5 separate regions of the Homo sapiens genome follow, and regions 1, 2, 3 and 5 are each linked to region 4. The links are contacts of gene promoters, found by promoter capture Hi-C in blood cells and fetal thymus (Javierre and others, 2016). All regions are on one chromosome and are shown on one strand. Each heading gives the region's core, a stretch centred on a gene start or on the middle of the fragment in contact. The rest is flanking DNA. Distances are from core to core; before and after follow the strand shown.

The links. The method cuts DNA at HindIII sites, captures the fragments that hold promoters and counts their contacts. A CHiCAGO score of 5 or more calls a contact.
Region 1: a contact is called between a fragment that was not itself captured here and the fragment with the promoter of LARGE1 in region 4, in 1 of 17 cell types (endothelial precursors). The highest score is 9.1, in endothelial precursors.
Region 2: a contact is called between a fragment that was not itself captured here and the fragment with the promoter of LARGE1 in region 4, in 6 of 17 cell types (endothelial precursors, megakaryocytes, M1 macrophages and 3 more). The highest score is 15.7, in endothelial precursors.
Region 3: a contact is called between the fragment with the promoter of ISX here and the fragment with the promoter of LARGE1 in region 4, in 1 of 17 cell types (endothelial precursors). The highest score is 6.4, in endothelial precursors.
Region 5: a contact is called between a fragment that was not itself captured here and the fragment with the promoter of LARGE1 in region 4, in 1 of 17 cell types (endothelial precursors). The highest score is 5.0, in endothelial precursors.

The regions. Positions count from the first base shown.
Region 1 is chr22:35,155,408-35,159,709 of GRCh38, forward strand. The region is part of intron 4 of LINC01399 (long intergenic non-protein coding RNA 1399); the gene reads right to left. Among named protein-coding and RNA genes, the nearest start is that of LINC01399, 73 kb to the right of the region's middle. RefSeq lists an enhancer at 2,825-3,656. The HindIII fragment of the contact is 3,837 bases long and covers 8-3,844 here.
Region 2 is chr22:35,020,208-35,024,493 of GRCh38, forward strand. No RefSeq gene overlaps it. Among named protein-coding and RNA genes, the nearest start is that of LINC02885, 24 kb to the left of the region's middle. RefSeq lists an enhancer at 3,699-4,286. The HindIII fragment of the contact is 3,270 bases long and covers 716-3,985 here.
Region 3 is chr22:35,064,839-35,069,399 of GRCh38, forward strand. ISX (intestine specific homeobox) reads left to right here and starts at 1,320. Exons shown (of 5, transcript NM_001303508.2): 1 at 1,320-1,624; 2 at 1,914-2,478. The coding sequence starts at 2,250. The HindIII fragment of the contact is 3,728 bases long and covers 1-2,548 here.
Region 4 is chr22:33,918,815-33,922,771 of GRCh38, forward strand. It overlaps LARGE1 (LARGE xylosyl- and glucuronyltransferase 1), which reads right to left and starts at 1,662. Exons shown (of 15, transcript NM_133642.5): 1 at 1,181-1,662. LARGE1-AS1 (LARGE1 antisense RNA 1) reads left to right here and starts at 2,411. Exons shown (of 2, transcript XR_001755630.2): 1 at 2,411-2,709; 2 at 3,593-3,957. RefSeq lists silencers at 1,190-1,289, 1,560-1,709, 2,030-2,529. The HindIII fragment of the contact is 4,427 bases long and covers 1-3,957 here.
Region 5 is chr22:35,228,196-35,232,488 of GRCh38, forward strand. It overlaps LINC01399 (long intergenic non-protein coding RNA 1399), which reads right to left and starts at 2,861. Exons shown (of 6, transcript NR_126356.1): 1 at 2,803-2,861. The HindIII fragment of the contact is 1,047 bases long and covers 2,345-3,391 here.

The sequences.
Region 1 (4,302 bases), core at 676-3,175, 1.2 Mb after region 4:
GAGGAAAAGCTTTCAGTATTACCAAAAAATTGCATATAGGAACAGTATCTGCACAAGCTACTAGACACAGGGCCAGGTACTCAGGATGCAAAGGACAAGGTGCTCCAGGTGGTTGGTGGTCGTGGAGAACCGTGAAAGTTGATTCCTGCACACGCTTAAGAACAGCGACTATTTCCAGAAAACCCAGTAGGAGGCAGTAGAGGGATGGTGGGGCAGAACAACTCTGGGGTCAGCATTCAAAGACAAAAATTCTCATCCTGGTTGTGCCATTACTGGGTTGCATGACCTCAAGTAAATGAATCCTCCTCTCTGGTCCTCAATTGTTAATAAATAAATAAATAAACAGGGAGGAGGGGTTGGGGTGCTGGCTGACATCATCTCCAAGGCATTTTCCAGTAATAAGATTTCAAAATTCTCAAGAGGCAGGCTGCGGACATAGTGGTTAGGCACACAGACAGCTGGACTGCCTGGGTTTGCAGCTGGTCTCTACCACTCGCTAGCTCTGTGACCTTGGCCAAGTTACTTAACCTCTCTGTGCCTCAGTTTCCTGATCTGTTAAAAAGAAGAAGAGTCCCTACTTTATAAGGCTCTTAGAAAGACTACGTGAATTGATGTGTAAAATATGTAAAACACTACCTGGTCCTCCTAAGTATATAACGTGAGGTGCTCTTAAGTCCTTATCAGTCCTTTAAAAACCTCATTAAGCCATGCCGACTGAGAGGAATTCTAAAATGGTGACATGACGATTCTAGATTTTGGAATACTTTGAAAGCGAGGTAGTTTTAAAGTGCCCAGCATACATCCTTTCCTTGTCCCATTTTTCTGGCAACAGAGCGGCTTTTCAGGAAAATCCCATCCATCCATGCCAGCCTGAACAATACCCTACACACACACACACACACACACACACACACACACACACACACACTGGCAACAGAGCGGCTTTTCAGGAAAATCCCATCCATCCATGCCAGCCTGAACAATACCCTACACACACACACACACACACACACACACACACACACACACACACACACTCTCTCTCTCTCTCTCTTACTTTTCAAGGAATAGCCGTGTGACCAAGTTTTGGCCAATCAGAGCTCTCCGTACCCCAGGTTCAGTGATTGGTTCAGGAGTGGGCACATGACCCAGCCCAGGCCAATCAAAGGAATCTCTGGGGCTTTTGCTAAAAACACTAGAAAACGGAGATATTCTTTTCTCTTTTCTCTGGGATCAGTAACTATGCAAAACATATCATTGTGGAGCTACCTGGTCATCCTAGCTGCTACAGGAAGAGTGCCTGCCTGAGAATGGGATCAATACAGAAGAAAGATTAGCCAAAGGGTGGAAAGAGACGGAGTTCCGAGGGCATGATTTGACTTCCTGGATCCAGGCACACCAGACTCCAGACACCCAAACTTCTGAGTTATACAGCCCAGTCATTTCTTTTTTATTTATTGAGCTGGGTTTCTCTCACCTGAAACTTGACTAAAGAGTCCTAAGGTAGGTATTATGGAATGTCTGATCCAAACAAGGTTACACAGATGGCAGAACTTTATTGAACCTAGTGTATGCAGCTTTAAAGGCCATGCTTTCTACATTAATCCACATTGCCTTCTGTGAACCACCCACTCCCCTCCCTCAGGAGGAATTACTTGAAAACAATGACGTTGGATGTTGATTGGTGGTCCACAAAGGGTGGTTCCTGGTTCTGCAACAGCAGCATTGCCTGGAAACTTGTTAGAAGTGCAAATACCAGGCCCCAGCCCAGATCTACGGGGTCAGAAGCACTGAGGGTGGGGCCCATAAGTCTTTTTAACAAGCACTTCAGGGCATTCTGATGTACACTCAAGAATGAGCACCTCTGCCAGAAATGAACAAATCAACTTCATTTTGGTTTAATTATTTTCTGGGCACCGTTTGCCAGAGCTGGGGGAGTAGAGATAAGCCAGATGAGGCTCTTGACCTCAAGGACTCCGAGTCTGGTGGTGATAGCCAGATCAGCACTCCACATCCAGCCAGCCATCTCTTAGTTGGGGGCATTTGCAACTAGCATCCATGTTTTCCTGGCAATGCCAAACTTTCAAACTTCCAGCCATTCATACTCATATCCTCTGCCTCCACTTTCTCATCTGAAAGGCTCCTCCTCATGCTTCAATACCCAGCTTCAATATCCCCCTCCCTGAGGCCTCCCAGCAGAATTAATTGCCCCTCACCTGAGAAGGGTCCTGCAGCAGGGCCTTCCATCCTTGCTCAGGACGTAATCACATTGCAATCACATTGCATTAGCAGTGCTTGTTGGAAAAGTAGTGTCTCCAACCCAGCTGTAAGTAATTTGAAGGTGAGCACTCTGTTCCCTTCATCTTCTATCCAGAGCCCAGCACAGGGCCTGGCACACAGTAGAAGCTAATAAATGCTTGATGAATGAATTAATACTTAAAGGCAGCTCTGAAGGATAGCAAAGGCTCACGTGCACAGCCTGAGAGAGTACAGAGTTGACCTGAGTGGGGACCCAGATCCAGCAGCATCAGCACCCACACACCCAGGAGCCTGTCAGCAAGGCACAGTTCAGGACCCACCCCAGACTTACTGAATCAGAGGCTGCTTTCACACAAGATGGCCAAGGGACCTCTTTGCATTTTAAAGTTTGAGAAATTCTGCCAAGGGCAAACTTACCCTTCTGCATTCATAATTGAAGGGATTATAAACAAAGTTGATGTCATCCACACAGAACACCTATAGAGGCTCTGTCAGTTGAAGCCATTTTCTTCTCCCCTTGGGAGAGCTCCCAACTTGACATGTTCTGGAAAACTGAGGGGCCCAGGGAGAGCCCTTTATTTTCTCTTACCCAGGACATAGCTGGTGGGTAGCATTCTGAGAAGACGGCAGACAGCACTTCCTCCCTCAGCCAAACCCTTGGCATTGCAAAGGCTTCCAAGAAAGATACAGAGAGTTTAGTTCTGGTCGAAAAGTCCCCACTTATCTAAGAATGCAATCAATAATGGCAAGGGGAAATCAATGGGGCCAGGAGATCTATCTCTCTGTGTATTTATGGAGCGTGGATCCCTGGTTGGCAGGAGGCTTCGGCAGACCAGATGGAGCCTGTGCCTGCTTCCCGGAGATCCTGATTCCCTTTCCAAGAATTATGGAGTGTCCTTTGTCTCTGCTCGATAACACCCTGGAGTTACAGAGCCATTTAGAAATGAATTGGCTCATTTTTCTCCCTTCCCCTTGCTTATAGTGACAGGTCACCCGGGCCAAAGAGTTATTAAAGGGACAGATAGGACACTTTGCACATTCCGTCTGGCTCCACCAGCCTTCCTGTCAGCGGCAGGCCCCAAAGCTCTAACTCCTTGTCAAAGAAATAACATTCGAGGAAAAAAAAAACAACAGGTAAAAAACTTGAGGCAAGGGTATTTTATTTTATTCCAAGTACTTTTTCCATTTTTTTCCATAGAATTTCCAATTATCTCTCACCTCTAAATATGCCATTGCTAAAAGTCTCATGAGCAAACTGAATGCATGGTTTATTTTTCCCAAAGTTAGCAAAACCATCTCCTAAAATTAAATTTACCTCCAGAGGAGGATTTAGACAAGTCACTTAACCTCTCTGGTCTGTTTCCCCATCTATGAGGATGACAATCCCAGCTGCTAAAGTCACTTCAAGGAAAGTGCTTCATACGGTGCGTGAAGCCTAGGAGATACTCAATAGTTATTCATTCATATTTATCTACAAAGTATTATTATTAGAATATTAATTGCTATTTCCTGAGCTCTTACATATCTCAGGCTCTGTATGAAGTTGTCAGAACTTTTCACAGGCAGTGGCTTGAGCAGAGGTTGAAGCTTTGGCCCTGCCATTTACTAGCTGGGGATGGGGTGTTGGGCCATCATGGGAAAATCAACATCCCTCTAGGCTTGGACCCAGGGCGCCTGCAAGGTGGGGGTGGAGATCCTGCATGAAGCCGCACTGAGATGAGGGTGCCTAATGTAGCCTCAGCTCCACTCTGTGCAGCAACAATTCTATGAAGCCCTCCAGAGGGATCTGAGCTCCTCCTGGAAGCCTCTGCTAAGGATTCTGAGGTGATGTTGTGTATCTCAGTCCCTGGGGATGGAGCTTTTGGGGTAGTTGGTAATACTAATAAATTCAGAGCTATATTTAGTTCCGGTCTTTAATGTTCTCTACAGCTCTCTACAGCTCACATGACTGTCTCCCTGTCCATGGCTGTGTTACGGCTCACTAGAAGGCAGCTTTTCCAAACTTATCAAATGGGTCATGTCCAGCTCATCTCTGTAAGAATG
Region 2 (4,286 bases), core at 1,101-3,600, 1.1 Mb after region 4:
CCATGTCCCTGCAAAAGACATGATCTCATTCTTTTTCATGTCCAGCCTCCATGTCTTTAATTGCTATGATACTAATACTATATTAGACTAGTGACCAGCCATGCTCATTATAGATCCAGCAGATGAGATCAAAGTCAGCCAAAATTAGAGTTGGGGACCCAGGCCTGGGGAACCAAAGTATCCAGAGTGAGGGAAGAAGACCCAGGAAACCTGAACCAAAGGTCAGAGCAGGGCCAGTGACAGGGCCAACGGGACTGCGAGCCTGGAGGAGAGGACTCCAAATGGAGAGCTGGAATACCAAAAACGCCATTCATGTTGCCCTTTCTACATACAGGGCAGCCCAGACTCTCATTAGGAACTACCTCATTTAATCTTCACAACAGCCCTGTGTAGTGGGGACAGTATTACCCCATTTTAGTAACAAGGAAGCAGAGAGGACACAGAGAGGTTAAGTAACTTGCACAGGGTCACACAGCGAGTCACCAAGGAGTCAAGATTTGAACTGGGGTCTGGCTCTACATTTCACCACCACATTGCAGGGAAGAGTGAGGTCCCAGGCACAGAACTGCGTGAACACAGCCAGCTGGCCACAGGGCCCTGGTTGAGCACATCTGGGAACAGCAGTGCTGTGCTTCATTAGGCTCAGTCATCCAGAAAGTGTTCCTAGCCTTGGGAGATTCTGGATTATCTAGGGCTGAAGCTGTCCCTCCTGGTAAGCTTCTCCCACGAACCTTACCTCTGGCCTCGATGGTCACAGTGATTAAACCTACCCACCCACTCGCTGCATGTCCTCTTCTGCATTTTTAGTGTCCCCCTGCTTTGGCTGGGCATCCGGCCCCTCACCCTCTCCTCCTCGTCCTCTGGATAAAGGCTGCCATGCCAGCATCCCCTCAAGCCCAGCAGTCCTGGTTCCCCAGACACCACTTCCCAGCACACGGCCTCAGAAGAGACGCCCAAGCAGCTCAGTGTCTTCTAAACACACACCCTGATTTTTCACACAACTACTGCCAGTTTTCTGTTACATCAGGGAAAGTAGGCGAGGGTTTATTTTCCCAGATCCTCCAAAGAATGCCCCTGAGCACATGCAGGCTTGTTCTTTCCTGGACTCATAAAACATGGTATTTACACAGGTGTGACGCAGGGTGCCGCCCAGCTGAGCCTCTCTCCCACCCAGCCAGCGTTCAGTATCCAGAGCTTGCATCTGCCCATCTGGGCCAGGCTCGGTGCATCTGTCCCCATGGAGCTGTCCCGGTGGAAGTTCTGCCCCCACTGCTTTGTCCTAAAGCTCCCTAATTCTTCTTTTCAGAATCTTTGCCCGCATATATCCTCTGGACAGGGCTGGAACAGGACAGCAACTGTCAGAGTGTGCCCTGCAGAATGGCTGGAGTCAATGGGAATGAAGCGGGAGAGAGAGAGTGGATTCCATGGTCAAGTGAGACTGAGAAGCTCTGGGTAAGACAAAACCACATCGGTTCCTTTACTGTCCGACTTCCCAGGGCCTTGAGTGTTCCCAAGTGTATTAGAAATCTACTAGGGCCAGGCGCGGTGGCTCACGCCTGTAAATCCCAGTACTTTGGGAGGTCGAGGCAGGCGGATCACCCGAGGTCAGGAGTTCGAGACCAGCCTGGCCAAGATGATGAAACCCCATCTCTACTTAAAATGCAAAAAATTAGCCAGGTGTGGTGGCGTGCCCCTGTAATCCCAGCTACTCAGGAGGCTGAGGTGGGAGAATTGCTTGAACCCAGGAGGCGGAGGCTGCAGTAAGCTGACATCACACCACTGCACTCCAGCCTGAGTGACAGAGGGAGACCCCCATCTCAAAAAATAAAAAAAGAAAAAGAAGTCTAATAAAGGGACATTGTTTGATTCAATAAATATTTATTGAGCACCTATTATGTCCCGAGCATTGTTTTAGGCACTGGAAACACACCAGTTGATAAAATAAACCAAAAATAGAATTATTTGTTGACAGACAAGAAATACAGGAAATAAGTAATATACCGAGAATGTTAGAAGGTGATCCATGCTACAAAATTTTTTTTAAAGCAGGATAAGACAGATGAAAGGGCCACGGAGGAGGCGCAGGTTGCAGCTGTAAATAGGGTGGTTGGACTAGATCCCATTGAGAAGGTGGCGTCTGAGCAAAGGCCTGGAGGACATGGAATGAGCCAGCCAGGCAGAGAGGATGAACTAGCCAGTGTAAATGCTCTCAGAAAGGGTATGTTCGGGGCACAGAGGAGGCCAGTGTGGCTAAGTGGAGGGGGCCAGGGGACAGTGGCTGGGGATGAGCTAAGGGAACTGATGGGGCAGACTGTGTAGAGACAGTCCCTCAGCTTTGGCACTATTGACCTTTGGGCTGGATAATTCTTTGTCGTAAGGGCCTGTCTCGTACATTGCAGGACATTGGCCGGCATCCCTGGTCTCTACCCACTCAAAGCCAGTAGCACCCTCCACCCAGTTGTGACAAGCAAAAATATCTCTAGATATTGCCAAGTGTTTCCTGGGGGGCAAAATTGGCCCCAGTGAGATTCGAGGCATGGAGAAGTGAAGTCACTTACCCAAGGTCACTTTGACTCATACCAATCTCATACCATGCTAACCCATAAGGCGGGCCACTGCTCCCGAGTGCAGAGTCCTGAAGTTCTGTGTGAGGGAGCAGCCTGGGTGGAGCTGTCTTCTCTCCACCAGAGCATGCCCACACAGCAAGCATCCTCCAGCCGTGCCTGGTCCTCCTGACCATGTCTGAGCTCTTGTCCCTCCCCTACCCAGCAAACTTACACATCCTTGTTCTCATTTCTGTTCAAGGCAAGGTTCCAGGAAACGGCGGGGCCCTAGAGCATGAGGTAGGCAACCTGCTGAGACCCCCAGTTGCCGACCGAGGCTGGCCTGCTCTTGAACCTGGTTCTGCCTCTTCCCAGCTGTTTGGCCCTGCAAGACAGATGAGGATGTTAATTTAACCTGCAGCACGTGACTGTGGTGAGGCTTAAATGAGAAAACGTTCATGAACCCATCTAGCAAAGCGCCCAGCACTGAGTAGGCTCCTAGATACTGGTTTCTTTCTAACACCTTGTCACAGTTTCCTAGCCCTGCCATAACAAACGACCACAAATTGGGAGGCTTAAACCAGCTTATTTTTATTCTCTCACAGTTCTGGAGGCTAGCAGCCTGAAATTGAGGTGTTGGCAGGGCCACGCTCCCTCTGAAGGATCAGGGAAGGATCTTTCCTTGTCTCTTCCAGTTTTTGGGTTCCCTTGCTCATGGCAGCATCACACCAATCACTGCCCCATCTTCACATGGCATTTTTTTTTTTTTTTGAAACAGAGTCTTGCTCTGTCGCCCAGACTAGAGTGCAATGGTGCAATCTTGGCTCACTGCAACCTCTGCCACCTGGGTTCAAGCAATTCTCCTGCCTCAGCCTCCCAAGTAGCTGGAATTACAGGCGCCTGCCACCATGCCCAGCTAATGTTTTGTATTTTGAGTAGAGACGGGGTTTCACCATGTTGGCCAGGCTGGTCTCAAACTCCTGACCTCAGGTGATCCACCTGCCTCTGCGTCCCAAAATGTTGGGATTATAGGCGTAAGCTACTGCGCCCGGCCCTTGACACAGTATATGTGTCTCTCTGTGTCCCCTCCTCTTATAAGGACACCAGTCATTGAATTTAGGATCTACCCTTCCCCCACCAAGGGAGGCCATGGGCAGGTCTTCCTTTCTCACAGTCTGTGCCTGTGTTTCCCCTCCTGCAAGCATGACCTTCCTGGTCCCCGGGCCCCAGGTGTTCTGGGAATATCCTGGGGCTGACCTCAGGCAGGAGAAAGGAGTTTGCTTCCCTGACATTTTTTATTCTGGATTAACCCAGCGAATCTTTGGGGACTGCGAGGGCACGGACACGGTAGAATCCCAGGTGGAAGAAGGCAAAGTGGGCGGGAGGGGAGAACTTGCATGTTTTAACCTTTTTCCTGCACCCAACCCCGCCATCCGACGCCAAGCTTCCAGTCAAACCTGAGACCACAGCTCCCCCTGGCGGTCAGCGCGAGCCCGCACCGCGGCTCTCCTGTGCTCACGCAGCCCTGCGCGGCGGAGGTGGCTGGAAATGAATTTAGCGTCAGCACAGTTATTTAAATTGTTTTAATTAATCACAGATTGAGCAGTAAATGAACCACTAAGTGGAGAGAGCGCGCGGGAGCAAGCGAGAAAGAGGTGAGGGGAGGAAGGCAGAGCCTAGGTGATGGCTCGAAAAAGCACAGACAGCTTCAGAGTGGGGCAGGAGGAGGGGGTACAGGCACAG
Region 3 (4,561 bases), core at 70-2,569, 1.1 Mb after region 4:
CTGGCCACAGAATGTGAGCAGAAGGTCTATCAACCACTTCCACTTCTGACTCATCAAAATTTCTCCTTTCAACAGAAAACCAAATACTGAATGTTCTCACTCATAGGTGGGAGTTGAACAATGAGAACACATGGACACAGGGAGGGGGAAAATACACACTGGGGCCAGTCAAGGGGTTGGGGGCAAGGGGAGGGAGAGCATTAGGACAAATACCTAATGCACGCAGGACTTAAACCTAGATGATGGGGTGATAGGTACAGCAAAGCACCAAGGCACATGTATACCTATGTAACAAACCTGCACATTCTGCACATGTATCCCAGAACTTAAAATTAAAAAAAAAAAATTCTCCTTTGCTGTCTCCCTTTCCCCAGAAAACTTGGAGCCTATGATTGGAGAATGGTGGCATCACTGTTTGAAAGGAATCTGGGTCCCTAAATGACTACATTAGAATGTGATGTGGGTGAGCTATTATGCTCCCAAGACTATAGGGTTTACTTGCTACTACAGCAGAGCCTATTCCCCCCCTAACTAAATCAGACAGCCTGACACTTCCAAGGGGCACAGCTCCTAAAATGGGGCATCTTTACCTGTTCCCTCTCTCAGGGTGAGTCCCTCTCTCTCCTGACTCACTCTTCTCAGGGAGTGGAGACCAACGTTCCCTATCCTTCACCTCCCACCCCTGCCCTCTATGAGAAGATCTAGATTCTAACATCCAAATTTACATTCACAGTCTCTGCCAGGGTATCCATCCCTCCTGTGCAAATTGGCTCCTTGTGGCCAGCATGGCATCATGGACATCCCCAGGGGAGTACTGTGATCAGGCCCTGCCATCACATTTTCTGTACCTCCTTGGTCTGGACCTCAGTTTCCCCATATCAGAAAGCCCTGGAATGCTTTTCCTGATCTGATATTTGCAAGCCATGGAAAGCACATCTGAGAGCAAATGAATGCCTAAGGCTGACAGCCAGCAGACTGCACCTCAGCCCAGCCTCCCCCACACATGACCACAGGCTCTCCTGGCTGAGTAAACATGTTTTATTGGGCCTGGGTACACTTCCTGGCCATTCTGCTCCCACCTTCCCTTCCCCTGCTCTGGCCAGTTCCCCAGCACAGCCCCTCCCTGGGGCCTCCAATACCTGTCCTTCAGATCCCCACTGCCTCCTGCCACTTTTCTACCCTGACACCTGCATCCCCAGCCTTAAGGGGCGTGGAGAGTTTTTCTCTTATCAGCCTGTTTTACTGCCCCCTCCTCCTTGGTTACACAGTAATTTGGAGCAAAATTCCAGGCAAGGACAGATCAACAACTGTCAGCTCCCAGTCAGAGAGAAAGGGCCTCTTCAGTCTGTCTCAGGAGACTGGGAGAAACAGCATAAAGGACCCCACAAGGAAGGGAGAGGTACCCTGGGTCAGGCGCTTGTGGAGAGAGGGCTTCGCATGTAAAGTGACGTCAGGGAAAATAGAACAGAAAAAAAGCCAGGGCCAGCCCAGAGGCACCTGAGAAGAATCAGACCCACAGCTCAGCCCAGCCCTGGCACAGAGAAGAGACAGGCCTGGCAGCACCCAGGGACCCCCTTTCCTCAGCCTCCACCTGCAGGACAGCAGGAGCACTGATGCGCTGAAGGTACGTTCTGGAGTCTGGAAGCAGCAGAACTGAAGGAAGTAAACACGGGTGTCTGGGAAGACCCCTCAAGCTGCAGTAAAGCCCAGGACTGAATTGGCCACCTGAGGCCAAGGGTGGCACTCCAACCTCCTCCTAAAGGCTGGCTAGAGCCACAGGAAAGGGCCAGAAGCCAGAGAAAGGGCAAAGGTGGACCCCTGCCTCCAAACCTCCTCTGGAGACTGACCTCCTCTTTCCTGTGCCTTATTGTTTCTCCCTCTTCTCTTTGTTCGCCACTGGGCGGTGACCTCAGGGATCCTGGCCTAACCTGGTGATTGTGCAGGCAACTGTGTCCGAGAAGACCCTTCTCTGGAAGATTGAACCCCAATTCAGCCATGGTGACTCCTTTGATGTCAAACTGGTAAGGGCTGAGCCGTGGGCACAGGATACCACTCCTTCCAGCTCTTCTGCTGTGACCTGCCCATGGAAGTCCCTGTGGACACGAAATCCTGTTTGGATCATCTAACTGGAGGCTCTCTGTTCTTCACCTCCACGCGCCCTCTTGACCCCAGGAGGTTCAGGGGAGGAAGTACGCCACTCTCCACTGGCACCCTCCTTGGCCTACACAGAGTCACCCCTGAGCCCCTCAATGTGTGCTGAGGTGGGCCCTGCTCTCTGCAGGGGTATGGAGAGAAATAGCTTGGGGTGCTGTGAGGCCCCGAAGAAGCTGAGCCTGTCCTTCTCCATTGAGGCGATCCTAAAGAGGCCTGCCAGGAGGAGTGATATGGACAGACCAGAAGGGCCAGGTGAAGAGGGCCCCGGAGAAGCTGCGGCCTCAGGCTCTGGGCTAGAAAAGCCTCCAAAGGACCAGCCCCAGGGTAAGTGTCTTCTGATCATTTCTTTCTGTTTCCTGGTCTCCAAGACCCAGCTGGGCTCAGGCAGAGAAAAAGCTTCTCCGTCCATATTAACTGGATAGAGGACTCTAAAATTCAGAGCAAGACCTGGCTCTGGGCTGGTTTCCTGATATACCTTTCAATCTAACCCAAAACTGTGCTTTTCAGCTTCAGACACCAAGGCTCAGTTAGTTGCAGAATGCAGGGACCTGGGGCTTGTTATTGTAACCAGGCCCCGGCTAAGAATGCTAGTTACCATTTATTCAGCATTGACAATGTCATAGGCATTCTCTTTTAATTTCAGTAGAAAAGCATGATTATCATAACTGGACAGATAAGAAAACTCATCTGTGAAAGAGAAGAGGAGGATAATGTCCCCAAGTTACACAGCTGGTAAACAGAAGCCCCGCTATCAGGACCTGGCTCTGACTCCCCCAAATCCCTGCTGGGCCCAGCACAGTCTCCTCCTCATAAGCCAAGTTCAGTCTGCACAACTTCCAGGGGCTGAAGCTTTGCCCAGGGGCCGAAGCTTTGGCTTGGGAAAAGTCTGTCCACCCTGATCACCTTCCCCAAGCCAGTGGCCACCCCAAGGCATGTCCCCAGATAACAGTGACCAGGTAGATCGAGAGCTGGCTTGAGGAAGGGAGGAAAGCCGCACTGGGGCATTGGTGTGGACGCACACACCTGCTAACAGTCAGGAACCCAGGATGTGAGTCTTAGCTCTACCTTGGCCTGCTATGTGACCTCAGAAAAGTCCCTGTCCACTGCAGCCTCAGGTTTATTCTCAGCAAAACACCTGGGTGAAGGAATAAGAAATGGTGAAGCTGGCGATGTCTCAAGGGCCTTGTCAGTCTGACTGTCACTGAGCCTGGAATATCTCACATGAGGTTCTCAGTTCTCTCCCCTTTTCACCCCTTTTAATCCCAGAAAATGCTGGAAAGGAAGCTCAGGGAGCCCTTAATGTCATTACCTGCCATAAATAGAGCTCCACATCCCCACCAACGAGGCAAGTCTCCCATGGAGGGAGCTGATGAGGGGTCGCACTCAGCTGCAGGCATGAGGAAGACCAGGAGGGCTGTGTGTCTGCAGGCAGGAAGGAGCCTGGTGTGTTTCCCTATAGCTGAGTTTTCCAAAGGGAAAGGGTCTCTAGCTTAATTTTTGGAAGTTCATTAATATCTTCCAGTCCATTAAAGATTCATAGGAACATTTCCATTGGGGTCCTGAGTCTCTCCTCCTGCAGTTGTACAAATCTATGATCACCCTGTGTCATGAGAGAGAGGTCTCGCTTTTCCTACCAGAGAAGCTTCCCTTCCCCTAGCCCGATGACGGCAGGCTTCAGAAAGGAAACCACTCTTTCTAGGCCTCCACGGAAGATTCTGGCATGTTCCGTGTCAGCTATCCATCTGGTCCCAGAACAGACCCCAGTAAGTGCTGACCAGACTAGCGGTGGTGACATCGGATGGTGGTATATTCCTTCCACAGCACTTTTGTGGCCATTTTCCCATCTCACTGTCACACTTGGGAGCCCAACTTACAGATGATGAAACCAAGAAGAGAAGATAAATCCCCCACAAAAACTATGTGAGTAATGAGCACTAGAATTGAACCCTGGTGGCCTTAGACCATCTACTCTAGATTATTCCTGAACTTAGTTTAAATCCATCCGTCTCCCACTATGCTGGAATTCGGCATTTCTGAAAGCTTGGAGAGGGTCCCACTGGCGGCTCTCAAGATGACCTTGGTGGGTATGTAGATAAAGATGATCTAGCTCAATAGTCCTGTAATTACTTTTATACTAACCTTGTATTTATGATGAAAGACACTGTTATCTGTGTATGATCATGATATAAGGTATTATTTTAAAATACATTTATTATTTGAGTCAAACACAAAAGTCTATTTGGGAAAATGCTAAACAAATAATACAGATGGGATATGAACTTGCCAGAAACTATATAAAAGAAACCTGCAGAAATTGCAAATGAGCTGGAGTCTCTGAAACACACTGGGTGAGAAGGGCAGGGTTTCAGGAAACCTACCCTCTAAGCCCAGATCTGGCCCCAGTGCA
Region 4 (3,957 bases), core at 412-2,911:
TCAGAGAAGAAAGGCATCTGCATGTCAGGGAGGCGGACGCCCCCACCTGCCACCCCCTCCGTTTCTCCCCTTGAAGGAAGCAGGAGCCTGATCTCCCCCCACTCCCTCCTCTCTCTCTCTCTCTGGGCACTTACATAAGACCCTGTAAAACTTCCAGTGACATTCACGAAAAATGTAAGCTGCTATTTTGCTCCCTCAGGAGATCATTTTAATGGACTGAGTGACAAAATTCACGGATTCTGAATTCAGCAGAAACCTGCTCAACCGAGGCACATCAGCACAGAGACGAAAAAAAAAAAAAAAAAGAGTCCAACCCCATTAAACAGGGTCACCCAAGGGATGGATTCAGTGTGCAAGAGACAATCTGTTCCCTCCGAAGTGACCCATTTAAAATCAGATTGTTCTGGGGGAAGCTCACAGGTTTAATAAATTTCAAACAGGCAAGGACAGGCTTGTACAACTGAGGTTCCTTAAGAGGAACATTTAAAAGAGGATAAGGCAATGAACAAAATAACTTGAGGATACACAAACTTTGGAGTCCTCACTCCAAAACTTCAAAAGCAGTGACATTTACAAGAATGTCTGGATAGCTATACACTGATCACTCCTCACAAGCAGCTTTGACTAACAGGAAGGACATGCTGGCTGGGCTTCCCCCCTACAGATAGCAATGCCAACCAACCACTCTGTCCTAAAGAGGGACTCGCAAGCTGTGGCTGCTCGCCCCCAAATTGCGCAGGACTGTCTGCAAGAAGGAACAAGAAAAGTTATTCACAGCATCACACCACGAAAGGTAGTTGCGTACCGCCCAACAGGGCCCTCTCCAAACACGGCAGGCTCCGCGAACCACAGGTGCTCACCGCTAACAAGAGGGCCGGGGGTGCGGGTATCGGTCACATGCCCTCGTGGTGTTAACCAGAAACTCCTCCTGGCTCGCTCCCTGCCAGCAGCCTGTGTGCCCAGAAGCCGAGCAGGCCCTGAGGGGGTCCTGGGGACTTCGGAGACTGGGGGCTTCCACCTCCAGCCTCTCCAGGGCTCCCGGCCGGGGCAGCAGAGGGTGTGCCCGGCCTCCCCGCCGGCATCCCGAGTACAGGGGGTACCAGCCACAGGTTCGGAGAACTTGTCCGGCGCTACACACCACGGCGCCCCCGCGGCGACTCTCGCGCTCCGGGGCTCTTACCTTGGCCGTGACTGCCGCCAGGCAGAGGGAGACACGGAAGAACAGGGTGGCGCGGCGGCGCCGCCGCCTACGAGGCGCAGGGGGTCCGGGTCAGGGTCCCGGCAGGCGCTGCCCTACTCGGAGCGGCGGTGCCAAGCACAGAGTTCGGGACTGCCCCCGGCTCCAAATGCCGCGGCGAGGGTCCGGGTCCCCCAAGCTGAGCACTGTCCCTTCTTCCTCTTCCTCCGGGGCCGCTGCCTGGAGCTGCTCCCGGCCCGGGGGACTCTTCCGAGCCAGGGGCGCCCCGCATGGGCAGGGGCCTGGGTCAGCCTCGGGTTGGGTCCAGGGAGCGACCGCCGGGGCCGACTCCACCTCCCGCGCTCCAAGCCGATTCGTCCCTTCAGGGCAGGGCCTGCCCGCGAACAGCCCGGCGAGACGAGCGCGGCCGCGCCCCCAGCTTCGGGCGCCCGGGCTCCGGCGCGGCGGCGGGGCAGGAGCAGACTGGCCGGGCCGGGCGCCGAACGCGGCGGCGCGGGGGGGGCTGCAACCGGCCGCGGCGCGCTCTCCCCCAGGGCCTGCGCCGCCCGCCCGCGGCTCCGCGGGAAAGAAGCGCCGGAAAAGGCCTCGCCCCGGCCTGGGGCGCGGGGCCGGGGGCGCGGGGCTAGGGGAGGCGCCCCGGGAAGGTCACGGGAGCGGAGGCGCGGCGAGTGGATCGCGGCGCGGTGGGTGCGGGGAGCCGAGGCGGGCGGCCCCCGCCGCCGGGAGCGCTCGCCGGCCTTGGCCGCCGCCGCCGCCTCCGAGATGCGCCGGCTTCCCGGAGCGCCCGGCGCTCGGAGCTGGGCGGCCGCTGCAGCCGCCGCGGGCAGCCGGGCGCCGCTGGCCGGAGCCGGCGCGCGATCCCCGCCTCCCGCGCCCGGCCAGGAGTGGGCCGCCGCGCGGGAACCGGCAGGGGCGGGCGCTGGGGTCCGGGCTCCGGGCTGGCCCCGCCGCCTCCGCGTGCCCAGAGCGCCGGACTCGCTCAGCAGCTGCAGTGACTGTGTGTCTGTGTCATGTCTGTGCAGCCGGGGGGGACCGCGAGCCGGGGCTGGGTTCCGAGCGGGGGCGGGGCCGGCGCCCGCGTCGGCGCCCGCCCCCGACCCCGTGACCGAGCGGCCGGCCAATGGCAAGCGCCGCAGCCGCGCGGACCGAGAGTTCGCCCCCGCACAGGCTCCGCCCCCCGGCGAGACTCCGCCCCGGTGCTTCTTCAGCTCGCTGGCTGGCAGGCAGGCGGAAGCAACACCCGGAGCCGGGATCCCGGGCCGGGTCGGGATGAAAGGGTGCAAGCTGGGAGCTCCCCGCCCTTCTTCCCCCAACCCCGGCGGCTCCCGGCCGCCTCGGGCTTGGCGTGCCTCGCGGAAAAAGGGGGAAGGGAAGCGGGACGGGCCCGCAGCTGCCGTGGTAGAGAGGCTCGCAGGCTTGCAGGACCATGCAGCCTGCTCCCCAAATTGCACAAAACAGCCGTCGTGAGAAGTAGGAAGTTTCCCCGCCTCGGGTCGCAGCTTCTCTCGGAGGTGGGCATGCTGTGGGGCAGCCGGAGTCTGTGAGGAGCCCCGCCGAAGGGCTCTGACGGCATCTTTCTGGGATCGGTATCCAAGAATCCTGTCCAAGGCTTCCTCTTCCTCTGAGGAAACTACATTTCTTTTTCCTCCACCCCAAACACACACCCCATGCACGCACAACACGCCCCTCCCCTGCTGATTTTATTCTCGCTCTTTCCCTCTTGGCATAAGAACCCGGCGCGCAACATCCCTTGAATGGACTTCCAGCCTCCCAGTTCTAGGGACCAGGGTGGGGGTACGGAGAGTCCTCCCGAGCCACAGGAGAAGTGGGTGAAATGGGTCGGGGCACAGGAGCGGGGGTGTGAGAATGGATGGAAGGAGGATGCCCTCGAGAGAAGACCCAGAGGAGGCGAAAGCAGAGAGGCAGGGAGAGAAAGAGGACGCCGAGAGCTGCACAACTCGGACTCGGAGACCGGAGCTCCGGGCGCGCGATCCAGCTCCCGGGTTTTTCCGCAGCTCGGTCCCAGGGCTTCTGGGGTCCCCTTCCCCCCGGGTCTCCACCTCTCCCCAGCCGGGCGGGCCGCCGGGTCTTTGCCTTCCCTCTGCGCGCCTCTCCGCTCTCCAGGACTCGAGCGAGGCAGCGGGAAGCCCACCCTAGTTCTTGGAAGGGGCAGGGGAAGGATGGGCTGGGGAGGGGGCGCGCGGGAAAGGGCCGCCGAGCTTGGGTTGCCCAGCTGACCCCACTCCTCGAGGTCGGGCTGGGGGGGTGGGGCGGCAAGGGCTTCGGAGGCTTGGCCCCTGCTTGGCTCCGGACCTGGCTCCCGCCTCGGTAACCACACTCTCGGCCTTTGGCTTTACCGAGCTGGGACCCTTCTCCCATCCCCCTTCCCTCCAGCCTCGTGAAACAACGACCCCCACCAGCAGCAGCAGCGCCCGCTTTGCCCCGGCTCCGGAGCGCTGTTTACCTAATCTCAGCGGCTGACCGAGCCCAGCAGAATGCGAAAGGGAGGCAGCGGTGGTACAGCAGCGTCCCCGGCGAAGAAGTAAAAGACGTTTGCTTTGGAGCTTCGGGATAAGTTAACTGCGAAGCTGGGGTCCTGCTGTCTTACCTCTGCGGCGATGAGCCTCACCGTGCACGTTGGCAGGCATAGCAGATTCTGTTTCTGATGCCATTACCGTGTCGGAGAAGAACATTATATGAAAAAATACTATCTAATATCCTAGAGACCATTAAAGTGTCAAAGTTTAATGCCAAGTCTT
Region 5 (4,293 bases), core at 1,618-4,117, 1.3 Mb after region 4:
ACAGGTTTCAGTGGTAAAATCAGAGGTGCATCATCATCATGTCAATAAGCTGCTTCAGACCGTATTGTTTTCCCCCGAATTCTTATATTGAAGCCTTAACTCCCAGTGAGACTGTATTTGGGGCTAGGGCCTTTGGGAGATAATTAGGCTTAATGAGGTCATGAGGGTGGGGTCCTCGTGATGGGATTAGTGCCCTTATAAGAAGAGAAACAGACATCAGCGCTCTCCCTCTGTCTTGTGAGGACACAGTGAGAAGGCAGCTTTCTGCAAGCCTGGAAAAGGGTCCTCACCAGACCCTACCACACTGCACCCTGATCTCAGACTTCCAGCCTCCAGAACTGTGAGAAATCAATGTCTGTTATTTAAGCCACACTGTCTATGATATTTCATTAGGGCAGCCTGAGCAGACTAATATGTAAATGCTGTGCATTGTGCTAAGAAAACAGGTTTTCCCTGTTGTCCCAAAATTCTGCATAAACCCCCAAACTAGGGACAATGGGCATGAAATCCTCTCACATTCTAAAAAGCACAGTGACATAGCCATGCAAGATGAGCCAAGAAAGGACAGAAGTACCTCTGCCCCACAGCCATCACCCCTTCCCAAGCCCCTCCAACCTTTATCAGCAAAAGACCTGGAGGAATTCCAGAGGACTCACTAGACAAGGGAGTATTTGAAATATGGGGAGAGCGCTGTGTCTTTTCGTTTCCTGCTGTACGGCCCTGGCTCCCACCCAAGCCAACTTCAAGAAAGTCATTTGCAAAGATTAGGGCTATGGCATCGTTTGGGTTCCCCAGAAGGAGACCTTGAGGCAAGAATCCAAGGACACGTGACTAACTTGAGAGATTATCCAAGGAAACTCCAGGAGGGGAATAAGAAAGAGCTGGAGAAAGAACGGCAGTGAAAAGGGTGTGGTTATTGAGAAGTGACCACTGTGGATGAGAGGGAATTCATCCTGCTGTGAAACACTGGGAGCTAGTGAGGAAGACGACTTTCAGAGTCATCCCACCAGGGGGCAAGGGACCTGGGCATTTATTAATACACGCCAACACTCACCAGTCATCATGGAGGGCTGCTGCTGTGGTGTTAATTTCCTGGTACTTAGGCCCACTACTCTGGCCCGGGGCCTGGCCACTGTAGAACGCCCTCAGGCAAAGAGATACAGGGGCTGCCCTGGAGGTTAGCCAGTGAGCACTTTAGCAGAGACAAGGAATGTAGGTAGGAGACATTGCCCACATCCCAGCATCTGCTAGGGGCTGCCTGAAAGAAAAGGACCCTAGATCTGTGTTTCTGCAGCAGACTCTCTGATCTGCCCCTTAAGTCTAACAGAACAGGGGAGAAAAGACCTGGAGCGAGGCACAGGGTAGGGGGTGGAGGTGCAGCAGCAGGCACTCCCACTATAGCATGGCAAAGATGCGTGAGTCTCCCACAGGCGGAGAGAACACCACTGAAGGACCAAGACTTGAGCAATTTCCACGTCCAAAGATCCTAATCATTACCCAAGGAGACTTGAGTGGCAAGAAGCTGTGGGCTCCCCCTGGCAACGATGGGGGCTAATGGGGTGGTCAGGGCTCCCACAAGAGCTCTTCACGAGGACCTCTGAAGAACCCACACAGGCACCCTGAGAAACAGCTAGCATCCTGCCCATTGCTCCCAACCTTTCCCATCCCTCTCCCGGCGCAGGTCTCTGGGGCTGGGTCAAGCCTGAGCGGGAGGGTGGGAAAGAGGAGCATTAAATGAAAAACCAGATTGAAGTACTTAGCTGCAAATGACCAAAAATCTCAAGGATCTGCCTACGATATTGTAAGAAAGATAAGAGTAGAGCAGAATATGCCCCCACCTGGTTCAGACAGTTCAATACATCCTTGATAACAACCAGCTATTGAGTACCAGACACACAGCGAGGTGTTCCTCAGGGCTGAGCTCATCTAATCCTCTCAGCAACCTTAGGGGAAGGTGTTACTGTCCCTACTGTACAGCTGAGAAGTGTGAGGCTTAGAGAAGCTACACAGTTTGCTCAGGATCATACAGGCAACGCATAGCAGAGTCTAAATTCAAACTCGGACCATTTTCATTCTGGTGCCTTGTTCATCAACTGGTAGGTAAATTATGGTATACCCATACAATAGAATACTAGTCAGTAACAAGAAGAAATGAATGACAGATGCATGACGGAACCTGGATGAATCACAAAAACGTTATGCTGAATGAAAGCAGGCAGACACAGAAGACTACTTTCTGTAGGATTCCATGTATATGAAATTCTAGAAAAGGCAAAGCACAGTGCCAGGGAACAGATCAGTAGTTGCCAGAAGCCAAAGACTGGAGAAGAAATGGGGCATGGGAAGCTTTCTGGGGTGGTAAAAATGTTCTATACCATGGCCAGATTCTGTGGCTCATGCATGTAATCCCAGCACCTAAAGGTGTTAGCAGAGCCAAGGAGGCTCTAGCCATGTGAGGGCATGGGCTGGAGAGGAGGACAGAACTAGAGAAATAAAATGAAATGACAGGTGGTAGAGTTGAGAAAGGGATGGACAGGGAGCAAATCCTAGAGTAAACATCTGACTGAAAAGAGACTTAGAGATGAACTCTAATCCAATGCCTGCCCCCACCTTTAAAGTTGGGGAACTGAGACCCAAAGAGAAGATTAAAGCAGCGGCAGTGGTGCTGGGGGGGCTGTTTACCTCTGTATTGGTCCATTTCACACGACTCTAAATAACTGCCTGAGACTGGGTAATTTATAAAGAAAAGAGATTTAATTGACTCACAGTTCCACGTGGCTGGGGAGGCCTCAGTAAACTTACCATCATGGCAGAACGGGAAGCAGCCATATCTCACACGGCAGCAGGAGAGGACGCTTGTGAAGGAAGTGAAGGGGGAGGAGCCCCTTATAAAACCATCAGATCTCGTGAGAACTCACTCACTATCACGAGAACGGCATGGGGGGAACCGCCCTCATGATCCAATCACCTCCCACCTGGTTCCTCCCTCAACACCTGGGGAGTACAGGTCAAGATGAGGTTTGGGTGGGGACACAGAGCCTAACCATCTCAACCTCCTTTATTTCATTCTTTCAACAAACATTTACAAACAGCTTGTTCTACATAGCAGACAGTCCAAGTCAAACAGGGCAGAGCCCCTGCTCTCCGGGAGTCCACAGCCGGAAGACGGACAGCCAGATGCCCTGGAAATTTACACTTCATGATGCTCAAGACGCTCAATGTCCCAGTCCCCCAGGCTGAGTTACCAAAGTATTGACATAAGAAAGGGGACTACAGATTTGAGGAGCCCGCAACTTATTCAGGAAGCCCTCTTATGGGAAAATGATACGAAATTATAAATGCAAAGTTAGGTACAAAAGCAGAAGGGGTCTGTACAGGTGAGAAGTCCTGAAGCTTAAGCTTCTTTAGCTTTTACAGCAATTCCTTCCCTGACCACACCTGAATTCAAGGGCAAAAACATACTTCTGAACTGGGCCAACAGCGCCCTCTAGCGGACCCACAGAGGAAGGCCTCAAGGAGCTCTGAGCTTTGGACACACCCACGCAGGCAGCGTAAAGCCAAGCAGGTAAATTTGGCCATCGGCTTCCTAGACACTTTCTCATCAGCCCATAGACCTGCCCTTCCTAACCCTAGAGGTGTGCAATTATTATTAGAAGCTTAGAGCTCAGCGTCCAGATGGACAGTTCCTTGTAGTTCCTTGATTTGGGGCAGGTAACTTAACCTTTCCACGTTTGTTTCCTTTACTGCAAATAAGTTGTGTCATAATGAGATTAAGTAAGTACCTACTTCAGAGGATGGTTGTAAAAATTAAATGAGATGACTCACTTTTATGATGTCTCTAAAATTAATTTTAAATAGACTCACTTATAAGTGCTTTATACAAAGGGCACTTTGATGTGTAATTTTTATTATTATTATTATTATTATTATTATTATTGAGACAGAGTCTCTCTGTTGCCCAGGCTGAGTGCAGTGGCGCGATCTCGGCTTACTGCAACCTCCATCTCCCAGGTTCAAGCGATTCTCCTGCCTCAGCCTCCCGAGTAGCTGGGACTACAGGCGCCTGCCACCACGCCTGGCTAATTTTTGTATTTTTAGTAGAGACGGGGTTTCACCATGTAAGTTATTTTTTAAGGAAAATGTATTCACCTGGCCATATTTTCTGCTTCTTCATGAACTCTTCTGAAGAAATTACCCTTACTACACACTCACAAAGGACCACGCAAGGCCCAGTTACACGGTGCAGGGTAGAGACAAGGTGTGTCTGTCTCATCCACCATTCCACAGACCCCT